Linked DNA regions of Homo sapiens: regions 2, 3 and 4 are each linked to region 1. Evidence: promoter capture Hi-C in 16 types of primary human blood cells and fetal thymus (Javierre and others, 2016). All regions are on one chromosome and are shown on one strand. The core of a region is centred on a gene start or on the middle of the fragment in contact, and the rest is flanking DNA. Distances in the headings are between cores, read along the strand shown. Region 1 holds the start of MRPL42 (mitochondrial ribosomal protein L42). Region 2 has its middle 16 kb from the start of EEA1. Region 3 overlaps EEA1 (early endosome antigen 1). Region 4 has its middle 71 kb from the start of PLXNC1.

Region 1 (4,686 bases), core at 1,395-3,894:
ATACATCTGGACTCTTCCTGTCTCTCCATCTCCACTGCCACCACCCTCCATCACATGATTTCTTGACTGCAGTACTGCAGTAGCTTCCTTGCTAGACTTGCCTGCGGTCTTGCCACTCTCCAAACCACTCCTCCCAGGGCAGCCAGAGTAACCTTTTAAAAATGGAAATCAAATTATGTCACTTCTTTCATGTAAAAATCTCAAGAGACAGGGCTCACTCTGTCACCCAGGCTGGAGTGCACGGCACGATCATAGCTTACTACCGCCTTGACCTCCTGGGCTCAAGCAATCCTCCCACTTCAGCCTCCCATTCCCAGGGTAACTAGGACTACAGGCACACAGCACCACCTACTCTATTTAATCTCTACATATGTCCTGTGTCCTAACTCCATGTTAACCCCTCCAAGGCTTATGAAGCCCAACATGACCTGGCTCCAAATCTCATCTCCTGCCGCTCTCATCCACACTATCCACCCTACTCCAGTATATGGTAAGCTATTTCCACCACATTAAACCTTTGTGTAAGTTGTTCCCTCACTCAGCCTAAACCTGTCTCTCCCCTCTCTTCCCCCAAAAATGTTGGTTTCTTTTCTGGTCTCAGCTTTGTGAGACCTTCCTTGGTCCCACTAAGTGAGTCTCCCTGTTGGGGACTGGTCCCACTCTGCTCACAGCCATCAAGACTTGACCTCTGGAATTATCTTTGATCCATTCTTCTTACACTTTACGCAGGGAATGTTCAACCAGTCCAGTTGACTGCTCATTCAAATCTGTTTCTCCTCTCTGTCCCTTCCTATTGCACAGTCCAGAAAGACATCATGGGTGGCTTTGGAGGATGGACACGACTGGAAAGGACACAGATGGGCCCTCTGTGGGCTTCTATAAGAGCAAAGATTAGCCTCCTGATATTCCGTGGGAAATGAGGAGACACACTACACAGCCCGTATTTAGTTTTCTTTACTATGTGATGTGTGTTCACTTACTTTCAATACTAGTCACTTCAGGAATATGGTTCTTAACTTGTTGAGGGGTTTATCAATTCCCTGGAATACATAATAAAAGCTATAGATTATTTCTTAGAAAAATATACAAAAGCAAAATTTTGCAAATCATGGGAGAAGGGAATTTCCAGGCGACCGCTTCTGCTTTACCAGCCAATCATCTACTGTCTTGGATACTTGCAGCGTTATCTAGTCTTTTCATTCATTCAGCAAACACTTCCTGGAGACCTATAATGAGACCAAGCACAGTCTGAGATGCTGGGTTTGCATACAGTGAAGAACAAGATAGACATATGTCTCTGTCTTCAAGGAGCTTACATTATCCAGCATAAGAGACATTAAACGAGGTTGGGTGTGGTGGCTCACGCCTGTAATCCAGCCCTTTGAGAGGCCGAGGTGGGCATATCACCTGAGGTAAGGAGTTCGAGATCAGCCGGGCAAACATGGCGAAACCCCATCTCTACTAAAAATACAGAAATTAGCTGGGCGTGGTGGTGGCCACCTGTAATCCCAGCTAATTAGGAAGCTGAGGCAGGAGAATCGCTTGAAGCTGAGAGGCGGAGGTTGCAGTGAGCTGAGATCATGCCACTGCACTCCGGCCTGGGCGATAGAGCAAGACTCCGTCTCAAAAAAAAAAAAAAAAAGAAAGAGACATTCAACGAGCAAACAAATAATCAATATAAAGTCAGGTAATGGTAAATATTCTGAAGGAAAATAAAGCGGGGCATGGAATAAGGGTGGGTGAGGCTATTTTAATGGTGTGGTCCTTTCTAAGATGATATTTGAGAAAGACCTGTAAGGTCATGAGAAGAGGTCAGAGAAGCACATTGCTGGCAATGGGAACAGAGAGTGCAAAGGCCCAGAGGTCTTTCCTTCCTCCTAAGATGGAAAGCGAGGTCCAAGATTCTGCATATTTACTTCCTCCCATAATAGGTAGCCAGCACAGTTCTGAGGGCACAGTGCCAGGTTTTCAGAGTGGAGGTTCTCTTCAGGTTCTGATTTCAAACGTCCAAATCCTAGCCTCCACATTTCAGGGCTTCTCTGGAATGTCTCTTCCCCTGGGAAACTTTAACTCATCTACTAAAGAGCAATCTACGATTTCTCTGAATATTAACATAATTTTTTTAAAAAGTACTTATAGGTTTGCATGGTGGCTCATGCCTGTAATTCCAGCACTTTGGGACGCCGAGGCAGGAGGATTGCTTGAGACAAGCCTGGGCAACATACCGAGACCTCGTCTCTACAAAAATATTAAAAAATTAGCTGGGTGTGGTGGTGTGCGCCTGTAGTACCAGCTACTCAGGAGGCTGAGGTGGGAGGCTCTCTTGGGCCCAGGAGGTAGAGGCTGCAGTGAGCCGTGAGGGAGCCATTGCACTCCAGTCTGGGTGACAGAATGAGACTGCCTCACAAAAAAAAAAAAAAAAAAAAGCTTGTTACTTTCTAAGGGTATGTGTTTGGGGCAGTGATTTTGTTTTTCTGGGCACCTTAGTAACACTGCGGCCACGCTTCCCCAACTAAAGGTAAAAGTCCATAGCAACAATCCTCCCTTTCTCTCTGCACCCGGGCCGCTTTCCCGCGGAGACTACATTTCCCAGAATGCCCCGCGGGCTGGGACGGCGCGCGCAGCGCTGTTTCGTGGGACCAGGATTGAAACAAGATGGCGGGTTCGTGGTGAGAAGCCGTCAAGGTAACCGCTTCCCTCTACTCCTCCTGTCGAGGACTTCCTCGAAACTGGGCAGTCCCACAGTGTTGGTCGGCAGTTGTAGAGGTCTCCCGCCTGTCGTTCCCGGCAGGGCGAGGTTGCCTGCATCCCCAGCCTTTGTCCTTCCTGCAGAAGAGCCGGCATGTGGCTGCGCGTTTCTTATAGCGCCCCCTTTGTTCCCTGGCGGACGCCCGTGGGGAGGTGATGCAGCTTGTGGCTCTAGGGACTCCTTTAGGTCGAAGAGTTCTGGTGCTCTTGGTAGCCTGTTCCTCAAACCTCTGACCCTCAGAGGCTCTGTAGCTTTTGTTTTGGGGTTGAATTCCGGGCTGAGGGACTTGATCTCTGAAATGATCTTCCTGGGGTGAATAATCTGACTCCCAGCAGGGCGTGCTTTTCTCTGGGCTTCGGACAGAGGGGACCTAATTTCCCCCAAGATGTTTTATTCGTGGTCAGAAGTCATGGGTTTACGTCCCACGCATGTATTAAGCAGCGATATACTGAGCAAGTAATCGATTGACCTCTCTGAGCCTTTGTTCTTAATCTGAAATGGAGATGCTGCTTCACACACTTGTGAAAGTCAGAGCACATATTGTATATGAAAGTGGGTTGTAAACTAAAAAGCACACCTATGAGCTCAGGGTTAACGGTGTTAATGTACTGGCAGTGCAAGGTATCAGTGTGAGTGGTTTAGACTAGCAAATAAGAGGGCCTGTGTCCTAATTCTCTTTTATCACTATTGGGGGGAAGGGCACGGATACTCATTGAAGACTATTAAAAACAAGATTTAACAATGGTTATTTGTCATTTATTCACAACAGGCCATGAAGATTGTGGTTTTCCCCATTTTGTCATTGGAGAAACTGAGGATCGTTTAGTTAATGACTTGTTTAAAGTTTCCCAATTTGGCAGTGACTGACTCTAAAGTCCTTGGAAGCAAGACGTTTAAATTTTGTACTTTAGTTTCTTCATGAATCAGAATAAAGATACCTCACATGATTAATACGAGAGCAAAATGAAATGGTGGTGAAAGTACGTTGGAAAGTTAAAGACTTTGTACACATATAAGATGGTGAAATTTTATCTGGGACTTGAGGGCATTTATGAGTTCCTCCAATTGAGTAATAGGCTAAGGATAGGCCTTGTTTGATATTTCTTTATTATTATTATTATTATTAATGGCTCAGGGCAGACAACTATTTCATTTAATCAGAAACAGGATAGTACTGTAAATGATGTAGTATCTTGTGTATGGAACCTTGGAGGGTGTACACAGCCACACTAGCATTAAAAGAATGAATACTCTGTGTACCATTTGTGAGTGACTGTTTCAAGAGTAATTACACATTTACTGAGTATTCATTAAGTGGAAGGAGCTGCACTGGGTCCTGCAGAGAAGTTTGTATCTAAGATAAATAGTAATGGACATAGTTCCAGTGGTTCTGATCTTATATTCTGTCCATGTCGCTCTTCGTCCTGTTGTTCAATCATGTGGAATTGCCAAGTTGTTTAAAAGCATTGCTTCAGTTGACTTCTAGGCAGTGATTCTTACCTTGTTCTTGTGGTGTTTAATATAACTTAAATTTACCATAGGTAGCACTGATTTTTCTTTATCTCTTCAGCAGGAGTAGAAATTGGTATGCTTAGAAGCAGATTCTAAAAGCAGTTTCTCTTCAGAACATCTTTTTTCATACCACTTGATAAGCATCTTGAAACACCATGGCTGTAGCTGCAGTAAAATGGGTGATGTCAAAGAGAACTATCTTGAAACATTTATTTCCAGTCCAAAGTAAGTGAAATTTTTTTTAATGTTTAAAAACTTTTAAACTTTTAAGAATTAAGAAAATTTAAAGCATTTAGTTATTGTATATGCCTGTAATTTGCAGGAGTGTTTGCAGCAATGGAAAGTGGGAGAAAACCTAAATGTCAGTCAGAAGGGGAATGGATAGGTCAGATGTGGTGTCTCATGCCTGTAATCCCAGCACTTTG
Region 2 (4,944 bases), core at 861-3,360, 520 kb before region 1:
GTGAGTTGAGATCATGCCATTGTATTCCAGCCTGGGAAACAGAGCAGGACCCTGTGTCAAAACAAAAACCCAAACAAAAAACAATTACCCCTGGGCATAGATGCAAGATGGTGGGGGGTTGTAGGATGTGACTAAAGTCACATACTCATGTCTCTCTGGGCCTGGCACCTCTTGCAGACCTCACATAGCTCAGATTGCTCTGAGCTATATTTCTTTCCTCAATTCACTCAAGAAACTGCGCTATATATGTTGTTACTGCATAACATGATGGGAAGAAATGTAAAACTAATAAATAATTTAGTTTTTTTATGAGAAGTGACAAAAATCTTTAAACCCTTTCATATACTGAAGAAAAAGTCTGAAATAGCATATATCGTAATTTTAAGTAGAAAAGTTAGGGGTATTGAAACCACCTTCGCAAAAATAAACACTGAGAAAATTATGAAAGAGGTCTGACCTGACTGACTCCAGCTTGCTTACACTCTCCAAGCTGCCCTTCTTCATTCCTGGGTGCAGGCCAAACTAACTTTGGGAGGAATTTAATTTATAGTCTAACTTTGAAACAAAGATGATAACAGCAGTTTCCTGAAACAAACCTCCTTCTTGCCAGGGGGACCAGACTGCCTTTGTAAGACTAACATATTAACCACAAGATTAGAAATGATGGCTTAGGAGCCATGCAGCCAGAAGCCACAGGATTTCAACCCTCCCCAGTTGCTCCTAGGGATAATATTACTATTGTAAAACCTGAGATTGGTGCTCAAGATATTTTTTAGACCCTGCATTATGGTGCATCAGCTGGCACCTCCTGATCAATCAGCACTCTCCACTCCCTGGCCCTCTACCCACCAAACTATCCTTAAAAAAATGCAGTCTCTAAATTTTGGGGGGGACTGATTTCAGTAATAAAACTCTAGTCTTCCATTCAGCTCGCTCTGTGTGAATTAAACTCTTTCTGTATTCCAATTCCCCTGTCTTAATAAATCATCTCTGTTTGGACAGTGGGCAAGGAGAACCCACTGGGCAGTTACAGTATTATTAGGTTAATAAATATATTTGTCCAGGAGTTCGAGTCCAGCCTGGACAACATGATGAAACTCTGCCTGTACAACAAATGCCAAAAAAATTAGCTCAGCATATTGGCCCATGCCTATAGTCCTGGCTACTCGGAAGGCTGAGGTGGGAGGATTGCTTGAGCCCAGGAGGCTGAGGTTGCAGTGAGCCGTGATGGAGCAATTGCATTCCAGCCTGGACGACAGAGTGAGTCTCTGTCTCTAGAAACAAAAACAATATATATTTGTCCCTCCATATTGACAATCTTGCTAAATTTTAAATACTGTGAGGTAGAGTAGATTAAAGGGATCTATTGTACCTTTTGCTCTGAGTTAAAAAGTTGAAAACACTTGGAAAGAGCAAGCCATTTTTAAAAGCTGAAGGCATTCGGAAACACCAAGTCATTTTTCAAGCTTGCATAGTAGCTTCTGACCTCTAGTGGGAACTTGGCTTGAATAACTATGCCTACAGTGTAGAGGGAGCCATATCTACTCTTGTTTTGTTTCATTCTGTTGAATTTTTATTTTCGTGTCTTGTTTCTGTGGTTTGAAGAATAACTACTAAAATTTGGTTTAAGTGTAAATCCTCTAAAGAAATTCTTGCCAGAGCTTTTCTTTATATTTTAACTTGCTTACTCAAGCAACTTAAGCAACAGTTAACTTAGGAAGTTTTTTGTTGAGGTTTTTTTTTTTTTTTTTTTTTTTTTTTTTCCCCATGCAAAAGAGGTATCGTTTGTGTTGAAACCTGGGTTTCACTGGACAACACAATTTACCTGTGGTTGACCTGAGTTTCACTGGACAACACAGTTTACCTGTGGTTGGTTGTAAAATGTTCTGTAATTCAATAAAATAAAGATAAAATACAAGACTCTTTTGGTGGATAAAAATTAATCAATATTTTGACTTTAAAGAAGCTTTGTGTTTCTTTTTAAAATCAATGTTTTGACTTTAAAGAAGCTTTGGTAAGAATGTTTCAACACTGAGTAACATTCTGTTGAACTTTGCAAACATTGTATATGATTTTAAAAGTAATTTATGATAATAGGAAGTTGCATTGGTTATTTACTTGCTCTGTATTACTTTATATATTGTAACTTTTCATTGCAAAGATAAAAATAACTAAACAGAAAGTTTGTAACTAAGCATTTGGTAGCACCGTCTAAGCTTCTTACTTATTTCATTTATTCCTCACAACAATCCTGTGAGGTAAAAAGTAATGAGGTGTTTTGTTGTTGTGATTGTTTGTTTGAGACGGAGTTTCGCTCTTGTTGCCCAGGCTGGAGTGCAATGGCGTGATCTTGGCTCACCACAACCTCTGCCTCCCAGGTTCAAGCGATTCTCTTGCCTCAGCTTCCTGAGTAGCTGGGATTACAGGTATGCGCCACCACACCTGGCTAATTTTGTATTTTTATTAGAGACAGGGTTTCTCCATGTTGGTCAGGCTGGTCTCGAACTCCCGACCTCAGGTGATCTGCCTGCCTCAGCCTCCCAAAGTGATGGGATTACAGGCTTAAGCCACTGTGCCTGGCTAGTCATGAGGTTTAAAAAGATTAAATAACTTGCCCAAATTAAGAAGTGATTGAGCAAAGATTTAAAACCAGACAACCTGACTCGAGAGCCTGCAGTGTCAATGATTTCTAATACTTAAATACCTAGTATGCTGGTTACACTAGTAAAGAGGCAATATTATTCTAGGAGTTTAAATGTTTTATTTACTTTTTTATCTATATATTTTTTAAAAAACATTCTCATAAGCTTTCATCACATATAACTCTATGGTCTTCATAATTTTAATTTCTAATGCCTAACAGTCTATCAACATTAGAATGTAGAAAATCAATCCACAAGGAAGTTTGTTTTTTTATCTCTATTGTTTCATTTTTAGTATATATATTTTAGGTTTTTGTTCGCTCATTAAAAAATGTATAACAAATCAGAAGCATATAAAGTGCATTCCATGTGTCATTGTATAATTTTTAAAAAGCTAAAACCATGGCTCTCATCTAGTACGTATATAAAGAGTTGTCTGAGCATGCTGGCTCACATCTGTAATCCCAACACTTTGGGAGGCCGAGACAGGAGGATTGCTTGAGCCCAGGAGTTTGAGACCAGCCTGGGCAACATAGTGAGACCTTGTCTCTACTAAAAATAAAAAGAACTTAGCCACCTGTGGTGGCATGTGCCTGTGGTCCCAGCTACTCAGGAGGCTGAAGCAGAAGGATTGCTTGAGCCCAGGAGGGCAAAGTTGCAGTGAGCCATGATTGCACCACTACATTCCAGCAGCCTGGCTGACAGAGCAAGACCCTGTCTCAAAAAAAAAAAAAATCCAAAAACAAAATCAAAGAGCTCATAGATAAGAGAGTCAACAACAGGAGAAAGCCAATTCAAAGGGGCATAGGACAGGTAGTCACTGAAAGAAAAAACAAATGCTAGACTATACTAGAACAAACAAAAATGCTAGACTACGATTACTAAATTACATAAAAACTGGTTAGTGCCGCATAGGGTAATAAAACTAACTGTTGGGTTGTAGTCTGTTTACCAGCCTCACAACATCTGCATCTCTATGGGACAAAGGTTATTTGCACTTATATTACACAATGATTATTTGCATCACTATCTGGTTTTCTACAATTTACTTTCTGCTCTTACATCTTTACCAATTATCACTATCTATTATATTGCATATCTTATATATTTACTTTGTTTGCTGTCTTCTCCATTAGAACATTTTCCCACTTCTGTACACTGCTATATCCCCAATGCCTAGAACACTGCCTAGCACATAGAATGTACTTAAAAGTATGTGTGGAATAAATAAATAAGAAAAAATTTTTCCATGCTGGCTAACACGGTGAAATCCCGTCTCTATTAAAAATACAAAAAATTAGCTGGGCATGATGGTGGGTGCCTGTAGTCCCAGCTACTCGGGAGGCTGAGGCAGGAGAATGGTGTGAACCCGGGAGGTGGAGGTTGCAGTGAGCTGAGACCGCGCCACTGCACTCCAGCCTGGGTGACAGAGCAAGACTGCATCAAAAAAAAAAAAAAAAAAGAAAGAAAGAAAAAAATTTTTTAAATGCAGATCAATTTGCCTTTAAAACCACAAGCTATTTTTTTTTTAACTTTTTACCTTTTTCTCTTTTTTTTTTTGAGACTGGGTCCCACTCTGTTGCCCAGGCTGGAGTGCAGTGGCATGATCTTGGCTCACTGCTGCCTTGACCTCCTGGGCTCAAGCGATCCTCCTGCCTCAGCCCCCTGCGTAGCTGGAACTACAGGTGCATGCCACCATGCCCTGCTAATTTTTGTATTTTTGGTAGAGGCAGGGTTTTGACATGTTGCCCAGGCTGGTCTTGACGTTCTGGGCTCAACTGATTCACCTGTGTCAGCCTCCCAAAGTGCTGGGATTATAGGTGTGAGCCTCTGCACCTGGCCCCACAGTTATTTTAAAAGGAAAAATGGGGGAAATGTAAAGTAAACAAACCCCAAGTACATTTAAATGTAAGTTAAATCAGCTGTGTAAAGGACACCCAAGCCCTCATATTGGTGATTGAACAGAGAAAAGCTTGTTTCTACCTATTTGTGGAGAGATGAATAGAAACGACGTGTGATGAGGAAATAAAACATGGAGAAACTGGAGAAAATCTACTAACCCCTCGTTCTTTTTTTTTTTTCTTTTAAGATGGAGTCTAGCTTTGTCGCCAGGCTGGAGTGCAGTGGCGTGATCTCAGCTCACTGCAACCTCCGCCTCTCGGGTTCAAGCGATCCTGCCTCAGCCTCCCAAGTAGCTAGGATTTCAGGTTCATGCCTCCGTGCCTGGCTAATTTTAGTATTTTTAGGAGAGAGATTTCACCATATTGGCCAGGATGATCTCAATCTCCTGACCTCAAGTGAT
Region 3 (4,324 bases), core at 999-3,498, 560 kb before region 1:
TTATACTAAATGGATAGACAAAGGGCTCTCACTAACCCTTTTCTACTATTAAGAGCTAAAAACGTAACATATAGATAAAGCGAGAAGTTATCTTTGCAAATAACAAATACTATTTCATGAAAAAAAATTCATGTAAAGTAATTGAGGGGTTCCCAGGGAGTTTTCATACTTGACCTCTTAGCTTATCACATACTCTTTAGGTAAATTCATTTACTCCCTTAATTTTCATTAACACCATTGCTGAAAATAATAAAACACTAACTTTAATCCAGACCTTTGCTGAGTTTCCAATTCATATTTTCCTGTCCTGCCAAATATATCTAATTGAATGCCTTGAGAGCACCACAAAGTCAGCTTATTCAAAACCAAATTCATTTATCTTTGCTCAAAGCTTTCACCCATCTACATTCTCCATCTCAGATTATAGAACCATCACACACTCATTTTGCCTAAATCCAAGGCATCACTCTTACTTGTCTCTATTCCTTAACCTTCACATCCAATCACCAAGTTAATTCAACTGCCCACTTAAATTTTGAATCTATCCCCCTTTCTCCATCTCCTTGGCCACTACCTTAATTCATGTTGCAATCATCTCTCACCTGGACGATAAAAGAGACCTAATATAGCACTCTATACCTCTACATCCACATTTGTAGTTGTTTACTAAGAAATCAAGCAATGGATTTCTCAAAGCATTGTAACCAAACCAAACTCTTCATTCATCTCAACACTTTACCATCCTAGGAAAAAGTTTACTTTCCTCACTATGTTCTCCAGCTTAGTCAATAATATCCTCATTTATCAAGAACTTCAGTTAAAACCTAAATGAACTATTAACCAGGCATGGTGATGGGCACCTGTTATCCCAGCTACTTGGGAGGCTGAGGCAGGAGAATCACTTGAACCCAGGAGGCGGAAGTTGCAGTGCACTGAGATCACACCACTGCGCTCCAGCCTGGGTGACAGAGTGAGACTGTCTCCAAACAAACAAACAAACAAAAATTAAAACCTAAATGAACTAAAACAGATATTTGCACACCAATGTTCATAGCAGCATTATTCACAATAGCTAAAACATGTAAATAATCCAATGTCTGTCAACGGATGAATGGATAAACAAAAGGTAGTATATACATCCACAATGAAATATTATTCAGCCTTTAAAAGGAAGAAAATTCTGATAACATGCTGCAACATGAAGCTAGAAATAATTATGCTAAGTGAAATAAACCAGACACAAAAGGATCACTATCGTATAATTCCACTTATATGAGGTACCTAGAACAGTTAAATTCATAGTGACAGGAAGTGGAATTGTGGTTACAGTGGGTTCAGGGGAGGGGAGGAATGAAGAGTTATTGTTTTATGAGTATGGAGTTTAGTTGTAATGATTGTACAACAACGTGAATACATTTCATGCCACTGGATTATACACTTAAAAATGGTAAAAATTGTATCTTTTAAATTACGTATATTTTGTCATAATTTAAAAAAAATTTTTTTAAAACCTAAATAAGTATTATATTGCAGGCATTACCATACAGACAAAATAATTATTTTAAGTATTTAAGAATGCAGAGTTTCTACTACATATCCTTTTGGGATATAGCACAAAGCCAAAAAAAATTGCTAAAAAAAGAAACAGTAAAATTAATTCAATAATCTTAGCCATAATATTCATATTGTTAATTTTAAAGCTATTTATGTATATTTTAGCAAAAAACATTTGCTAATGTTAAGAACCAAGATATTCAGTATAAGAAAAAATGATATAAATACAGAATCAAATAAGTAAAAAACCATTTTATATCTTAAATTTGAATTATCATTTGGGTTTTTGTTTCATTTTTTTCCTGAGACAGAGTCTGGCTCTCTCACCCAAGCTGGAGTGCAGTGGTACAATCTCAGTTCACTGCAACCTCCGCCTCCCAAGTTCTAGCAATTCTCCTGCCTCAGCCTCCTGAGTAGCTAGGATTACAGGCGTGCACCACCACACCCAGCTAATTAGTAAAGATGGGGTTTCGCCGTGTTAGCCAGGATGGTCTTGAACTCCTGACTTGTGATCTGCCTGCCTCGGCCTCCCAAAGTGCTGGGATTACAGGCATGAGCCACCGCGCCCAGCCCTGTTTCTTAACAATAATTCTTATCATTCAAAAGCTTAAAAGCAAAGACAACCCAAAAGCAAAGCGCACCCTACGTGCTTATACTATGGTCTCTAACCATCACTCCCCACTCAAAGGAACCAGAATTTTCTAGAGAAATGGCTGATTCCAGACATGGGAGAGGGAATTTACAAGATAAATCTGAAACATATTATTGTGCCAAAAAGCAAGGAAGCTTTTTGAACACAAATAAGGTCCTGTCAAAATGACAAACGTCACCTTGAAGGTACTCCCAGTAGCTAAAGCTGAGATCATTTTCACATCAGCAAAACACATTGACTGTAATTGACTGAAACATGCTAAACATATGTAAATCCGTGAGTTCATAATATAAAAATCCATGAGTTAGTCAACTAATCTTTGACAATGGAACAAAGGCAATAAAATGAGAAAAGATAGCTGTTATCGCTTGAATGTCCCCACCAAAACTCATGTTGAAATTTAATTGCAAATGTAATGGTATTGAGAAGTGAGGCCTTTAAAAGGTGACTAGGTCATGGGAGTTCCACCCTCATGAATGGATTGCCATTATTGTGAACATGGATCAGTTATCATGGGAATGGCTTTGTTATAAAGACAAGCTTGTGGCCGAGCATGGTGGCTGACACCTGTAATCCCAGCACTTTGGGAGGCCGAGGTAGGAGGATCACTTGAGCTCAGGAGCCCAAGACCAGCCTGGGCAACATGGTGAGACCCCGCCTTAATAAATTTAGGTTGGGCACAGTGGCTCACGCCTGTAATCCCAGCACTTTGGGAGACCGAGAAGGGTAGATCACCGGAGGTCAGGAGTTTGAGACCAGCCTGGTCAATGTGGAGAAACCTTGTCTCTGCTAAAAATACAAAAATTAGCCAGGTGTGGTAGCAGCCACCTGTAATCCCAGCTACTTGAGAGGCTGAGGCAGAAGAATCACTTGAACCCAAAAGGTGGAGGTTGCAGTGAGCCAAGATCACGCCACTGCACTCCAGCCTCGGCAACAGAGCAAGATTCCATCTCAAAAATAAATAAATTAATTAAATTTTAATTTTAAAAAATTAACTCAAGGTCAGGCGCGGTGGCTCACACCTATAATCCCAGCACTTTGGGAGGCCGAGATGGGCAGATCACGAGGTCAGGAGTTCAAGACCAGCCTGACCGACATGGTGAAACCCATCTCTACTAAAAATACAAAAATTAGCCGGGCATGGTGGTGCGCACCTGTAATCCCAGCTACCCAGGAAGCTGAGGCAGGAGAATCGCTTGAACTCGGGAGGCGGAGGTTGCAGTGAGCCAAGATCATGCCACTGCACTACAGCCTGGGCGACAGAGCAAGACTCCATCTCAAAAAAAAATAAATAAATAAACTCAAAATGGATCACAAACCTAAATGTAAAACACAAAACTATAAACCCTAGAAGATAACATAGGAGAAATTACTGTGGTTTGTCCATTATTTTTTTAGGTAGAACACCAAAGGCGCAATCCATGAAAGAAAGAATTAATAAGCTGGACTTCATTAAAATTTAAAATGTCAGCTCTTCAAAAGACATTGTCAAGAGTAAAAAGACAAGTCACAGACTGGAGAAAAATATTTACAAAAGACAAACCTGATAATGGACTATTATCCAAAATATACAAACAACTCTTTAAATTCAACAGTAAAAAAATAAACAATCTAATTTAAAAATAAGGCAAAGACCTTAATAGACAGGCATCTTACAAAAGAAGATATACAGATGGCAAATATGCATATGAAAAGTTGCTCCACAGCATACACCATCAGGGTAATGCAAATTAAAACAATGGGATACCACAACACAGCTAGTAGAATGGCCAAAATCCAGAACACTACCACCATCAAATGCTGACAAGGATGTGGAGAAATAGGAACAGGAATTCATTGCTGGTGGAAATACAAAATGTTACAGCTACTTTGGAAGACAGTTTGGTAGTTCCTTACAAAACTAAACATACTCTTACTATACAATTCAGTAATCACACTCCTTGGTATTTACCCAAATGAGCTAAAAACTTCTGTCCACACCAAAACGTGGACATAGAAGTTTAAAGTAGCTTTATTCATAATAGCTAAAGCTTGTAATTGACCAAGATGTCCCCCAGCGGGTGAATCAATAACTTACTAGTACACCCAGACAATATTCTCCAGCGTTAAAAAGAAATG
Region 4 (4,898 bases), core at 902-3,401, 610 kb after region 1:
CACTCAGCTAAGGGCTCTTCATTCATGATCTCAGTTAGTCATTGCACAACTTTTGGGAGCTATTAGTAATGGAAAAAAGACCAGAGAAATCAAGTAACTTGCTCTAGCTCATGCAACTAGGAAATGGCACAAGCAAGGATACTAAACCAGGGACAAATGGCTTTCCCAGTTTATTTTCTTGCCATTCATCTTTATAGCCAAGCTTTTCCTCCTTGGACCCAGAACATGGCATGTTGTAAGCGTTTGCCAGCAGTTCTCTCTGGCATGATGGGTCTCAAAGCTAGCTGCCTATTAGAACTACCTGGAGACATGCTCTAACCTGCCAAGTGTTCAAGCCCCACCTCCAGTGATTCTGATTTTAATTGATCTTATGTAGATCCTAGCTTAAGTAGGTTTTAAAAGTTCTCCAGGTGATTCTAACATATAGCCAGTGCTAAGAATTCCTGTTCTAGCTGCAGAAGATATAGAGGCAAAACACATGGCCCCTTCCAAACCTGGGACTTGTATTTAATAGAATTTAATACGTTTAGAGGGCTTCACTAAAGAAAAATCACTTTTGAAGGCTGTAGGCTTTCTAGTGGAATGTTAGTTCTGCTTTATGGTATGGTAGGCTGAATAATAGTCCCCCAAAGAGCTTCACGTCTCAATCCTTTGGAACCTATAAATAGATTACTTTACACAGAAAAAGAGACTTTGCAGATGTAATTACATTAAAGATCTTGAGTTGAGGAGATTATCCTAGATTATCTGGATGGCCCAGATATAATCACAAGGGTCCTTCGAAGAGAGGCAGGGGAGTCAGAGTTAGAGAAGATGTGATGATGGAAGTGGAGGTTGGAATGGTGTGAGGAAGGAATACAAAAAATGCAGTGGCCTCTAGAAGCTGAAAAAGGGAGAGGAAACATCCTCCTTTAGATCCTTCAGAAAGAACAGTCCTGCACAGGCTTGACTTTAGCCCATTGAGACTGATTTTGAACTTCTGACCTCCAGAATCATAAGAATAAATTTGCATTGTTATGAGCCACTAAATTTGTGTTATTTGTTACAGCAGCAAGGGGAACTAATACAGATGTGGTGCAGCTCGCTTCAGCCATCTGAGGCTTGGGTTCCTCACCTCTAAAATGGATACTCATACCTACTTCAATAGGACTAAATTCAATAATTATAAGGAATTCTTGTGGCTGGCACACAGTAAGTGTTCAATAAACGGCACCTACTATTACACTATTACACCTACTACTACTACAGCTACTATTACACTCATCCATAGAGGAACCTGGGATTCTCATCTCCTGAGAATCCCAGGTTCCTCATGCAGCTCTGAGTCAAAACAGGTGGGGCACAAAGTGGAAAAAATATAATAAGATGTGAGAAGAAAGAGGCTTTTAGTTGTGCCCAAATACATTTCTACAGGACAAGGGATCAAGGTGAATGGAAAATAAATTAGCAAGAGAGCAGTGGCAGCAGAATTTCTCAGCCAGCTGGCCTCTGGGGGATGTTTGCACACGCTGGTTCTGAACATGCTATCAGATTCCTGGCACTATTGGGTCCACTTCCCAGGAACTCAGCCCCTTATTGTAAGAATTCACAAAGAGAAAGAGAAAAGGAATTAGAATCATCATAATACCTAAAGGACCCAGAAATATACAAGTTCCCCTGTCCAAATACAGCTAGCCAGTCAATTTCTGAGCAGTTGGACAATTTCAGGTTCTTAAGCTCTCACAAGAATAAAACATTGTTTTCTATCTATGTAGTGTTGGTTGGATTGATAGTATTAATGGACATTCTACCATGTATGAGACTTATGACCTTAGGCAAATTACTCTGTTCTTCAGCTTCTTCACCTGTAAAACAGGGACAAGGGTAACACCTAGTTGTAGGGTTGTCATGAAGATTAAATGATTTATACATGCAAAGGGCATAGTAAAGTGCCTGGCACACAGTCAAGTGCTCGGTAAGTTAGCTATTAACATTCCCAGCAGGGTTATTTTTATTTTGGAAAAAGACATGAGGCTAGGTGAAGGAAGCCACCGACTTAGAATACTTTTCATGAAGAACAGTATTTTTGTTGTTGTTGTTGAGACAGGTTCTCACTCTGTCACCCAGGCAGGATGGGGTGCAGTCACGCAATCATAGCCCACTGCAGCCTCAAACTCCTGGGCTCAAGCAATCCTCCCACTTCAGCCTCCTGAGTAGCTGGGACTAAGACACAATCCACCACACCCAGGTAATTTTTTTATTCTTTGTACAGACAGGGTCTCACCATATTACCCAGGCTGGTCTTGAATTCATGGCCTCAACTGATCCTCCTGCCTTGGCCTCCCAAAGTTCTGAGATTACAGGTGTGATCCACCGTGCCTGGCAGAAAGACAGTAATTTTTAATGTCCTTTTATTGTTTTATGTAGTTTTGTTTTTAAAGGAGCTTCAAGAGAAAGAAGTCCAAAATAGGAGCCAGATACAGGCACGTATTCACTCAGCCAATATTTATTGACTGTCAATTATATACCAGGAACTTTTCTAGGAACTGGGGCCTAAAGATAAACAAAATCTGTTCCCTACACATAAGGAGTGTTCAGCATAATGGTGGAAAGAGAGATGGTAGATTCCTAGCACAAGACAGCAAGACACATGCTGCAATAAGAGTAGGTAGGGCATGGTGAAGAGATACATAGGAGAAAATCTGATCTGGGATAGGGGACATCAGGGAGGACTTCCTGGAGGAAGCAACATCTAAATTGGCTGAGTAGGTTTGCAGATGGATGATAAGGATGTGGAGAGTTTTAGAGGAAACCAGCTCTTCCGAAGTTTTGAGGGCAAGAGCAAGCAGTGTTTTCAGGAAACTGCAGTCAAGATGAACCCAAGGGGTGGGGCCAGGCCTGAAACGGGAGGTGAGAGATTCAGCAGGAGTTCTAAATGCCATTCAGATCACAGATCACAAAGATGGAGAACCATGATAACGAGTTTGTATTTTAGCTTGAGGACAATGAGGAGCTGTTGAAAGGCTTTAAGCAGGGCAATTTCACAATAAGATTTGAGCTTTAGAAAGATCACTCTCAGGAGAGTAGTTGAAAGACAAGATCAAAGTCAGAAAGACAAGCTGGAAAACTATTGCAATAATTCTGGTGAAAGATAAAAGAAGACAGAGTCAAGGTACTGGCAGTGGGGAATGATTAGGCATGGACAGATGTTAGAATGGCAGACCTGCAGACTCTGTGATCAGGTGAGAAAGGGAGGAAAAAAATCTCATTTCCAGGTTTCTAACTTGGATGAAAGGTGGTACCACTCACTAATTCAGGAAATCCAGGAAGCAGAAGTTTGAGAGGCAGGTAATGAGCTCAGCTTTTGACACCTTGATGTGGACACATTGAAGGCCTGTGGGGACCTTCAAGTGGACATGCGCAGTTAGCAGCTAGATATGAGCCTTGAGTTCAAGATGAAGACTTGAGATTTGAGTCATTGGCCCATAGTTCGTCTATTTGAAACCATGGGAATGGGTGAGACCACCCGGGGACAGTGAGGAGTTCAAGGTGGAGGCATGATGTCCTCTGGCAAGAATGCTGTCTAAGGAGACACAGAGATAAGACAGTAATTGGAGGGGAGCAGGAGGTAAAGGGAGATAGTGTTTTGCTGTTTTTGTGTTTTAACAAACACTTGAGATTGTTGAAATGTTGCTGATGAAGAGGAATGGGGTGGGTGGGGAAAGAAAGGATTAAAGTAGAGTCTATCTTCTTTGTTCACAGATTTTGTATTTGCAAATTTGCCTACTCACTAAAATGCATTTGTGACCCTAAAATCAATAATCACGGTGCTTTCATGGTCATTCCTGGATGGGCACCTGTTCAGAGTGTCAAAAAACTGGATCCTCCTGATACACTTGTCCCCAGCTGAGGTTAAACAAGGCAATGCTCTGCCTTCCTGTTTCAACTCTCATACTATAAATGTGTCCTTTTCGCAGAATATTTAGCGTCACATTTTTCACGTTTGTGCATTTCGTTGGTGATTTCGCTGTTTAAAATTGCCTGAAGCAAAATGCCGAAGTGCTGTCTAGTGTTCCTAAGCCCAAAAAGCTGTGCCTTATGGAGAAAATATGGGCATTCAATAAGCTTCTTTCAGGCATGAGTTAGTGCCATTGGTTGGGAGTTTAATGCTAATGAATCAAGAGTATATGGTAAATAAGGTATCTCTAGACAGAAATATGCATAAAATAGGATTATGTGCCGATCTGTTGATGAAAATGTTGTGAACAGAGCCTCACCGGAAATAACCCTGTATTTCCTCTAGGTGCAATGATCCCATATTCGCTAATTAGTGTTGGCAGTAACTTTATAAAATGCAACTACTACACATAATGAGAATCAACTGTGTAAGAGAGAGGGAGAGTCAGAGGCCCCAGAGGAGGATTTGGGTGGCGTGCTTTCAGGTAATGGAGTAGTCTGCTAGAGTCCCTGATCTTGTCATGCAATAAGTGTGCTAGACCAAAATATTCCTTTTAACTGAAGACACCACCAGGAGATAGCTTTCAGCTGGCTTTGCTCTGAACAAGCTGCCCTGGCACATGAAGTGTGGGAGGATGGGTAGGAAAGGGAAGTGAGATCAATAAGGAGACATTGAAAATAAAATACGGGTGGAGAGAGAAAGAGGGTCTCCTTTTGTTGCTCTCTCTCTACATTGCGCAATTTATAAAGTTTAATGGGGGAGCCTTTTCTGATGATTTCTTAGGGACTCACAGATTTTACATTCCTGCTTCTTCTGGTGATACCGAACTTTATTTTGATCCCTACCCAAAACTGTACAGTTTAATCTTCACTTTGCCTATGCCTTGGCTCAAAAGGAAGTTAGTTTCAGGCAATTGAGATTTGGCATTACACAGTAATCTCTTTTTTATTAACTCATCTCA

The links. The method cuts DNA at HindIII sites, captures the fragments that hold promoters and counts their contacts. A CHiCAGO score of 5 or more calls a contact.
Region 2: a contact is called between a fragment that was not itself captured here and the fragment with the promoter of MRPL42 in region 1, in 1 of 17 cell types (total B cells). The highest score is 5.3, in total B cells.
Region 3: a fragment that was not itself captured here is called in contact with the fragment with the promoter of MRPL42 in region 1 in 1 of 17 cell types (naive CD4 T cells); the score reaches 5.2 in naive CD4 T cells.
Region 4: a contact is called between a fragment that was not itself captured here and the fragment with the promoter of MRPL42 in region 1, in 1 of 17 cell types (fetal thymus). The highest score is 7.2, in fetal thymus.

What each region holds. Positions count from the first base shown.
Region 1 is chr12:93,464,870-93,469,555 of GRCh38, forward strand. It overlaps MRPL42 (mitochondrial ribosomal protein L42), which reads left to right and starts at 2,645. Exons shown (of 6, transcript NM_014050.4): 1 at 2,645-2,685; 2 at 4,323-4,486. The coding sequence starts at 4,417. RefSeq lists enhancers at 2,477-2,536, 2,597-2,866. The HindIII fragment of the contact is 2,939 bases long and covers 2,426-4,686 here.
Region 2 is chr12:92,942,518-92,947,461 of GRCh38, forward strand. No RefSeq gene overlaps it. Among named protein-coding and RNA genes, the nearest start is that of EEA1, 16 kb to the left of the region's middle. The HindIII fragment of the contact is 207 bases long and covers 2,008-2,214 here.
Region 3 is chr12:92,906,984-92,911,307 of GRCh38, forward strand. All of the region lies in intron 1 of EEA1 (early endosome antigen 1), which reads right to left. Among named protein-coding and RNA genes, the nearest start is that of EEA1, 20 kb to the right of the region's middle. RefSeq lists a silencer at 2,197-2,397. The HindIII fragment of the contact is 180 bases long and covers 2,159-2,338 here.
Region 4 is chr12:94,075,496-94,080,393 of GRCh38, forward strand. No RefSeq gene overlaps it. Among named protein-coding and RNA genes, the nearest start is that of PLXNC1, 71 kb to the right of the region's middle. The HindIII fragment of the contact is 3,902 bases long and covers 201-4,102 here.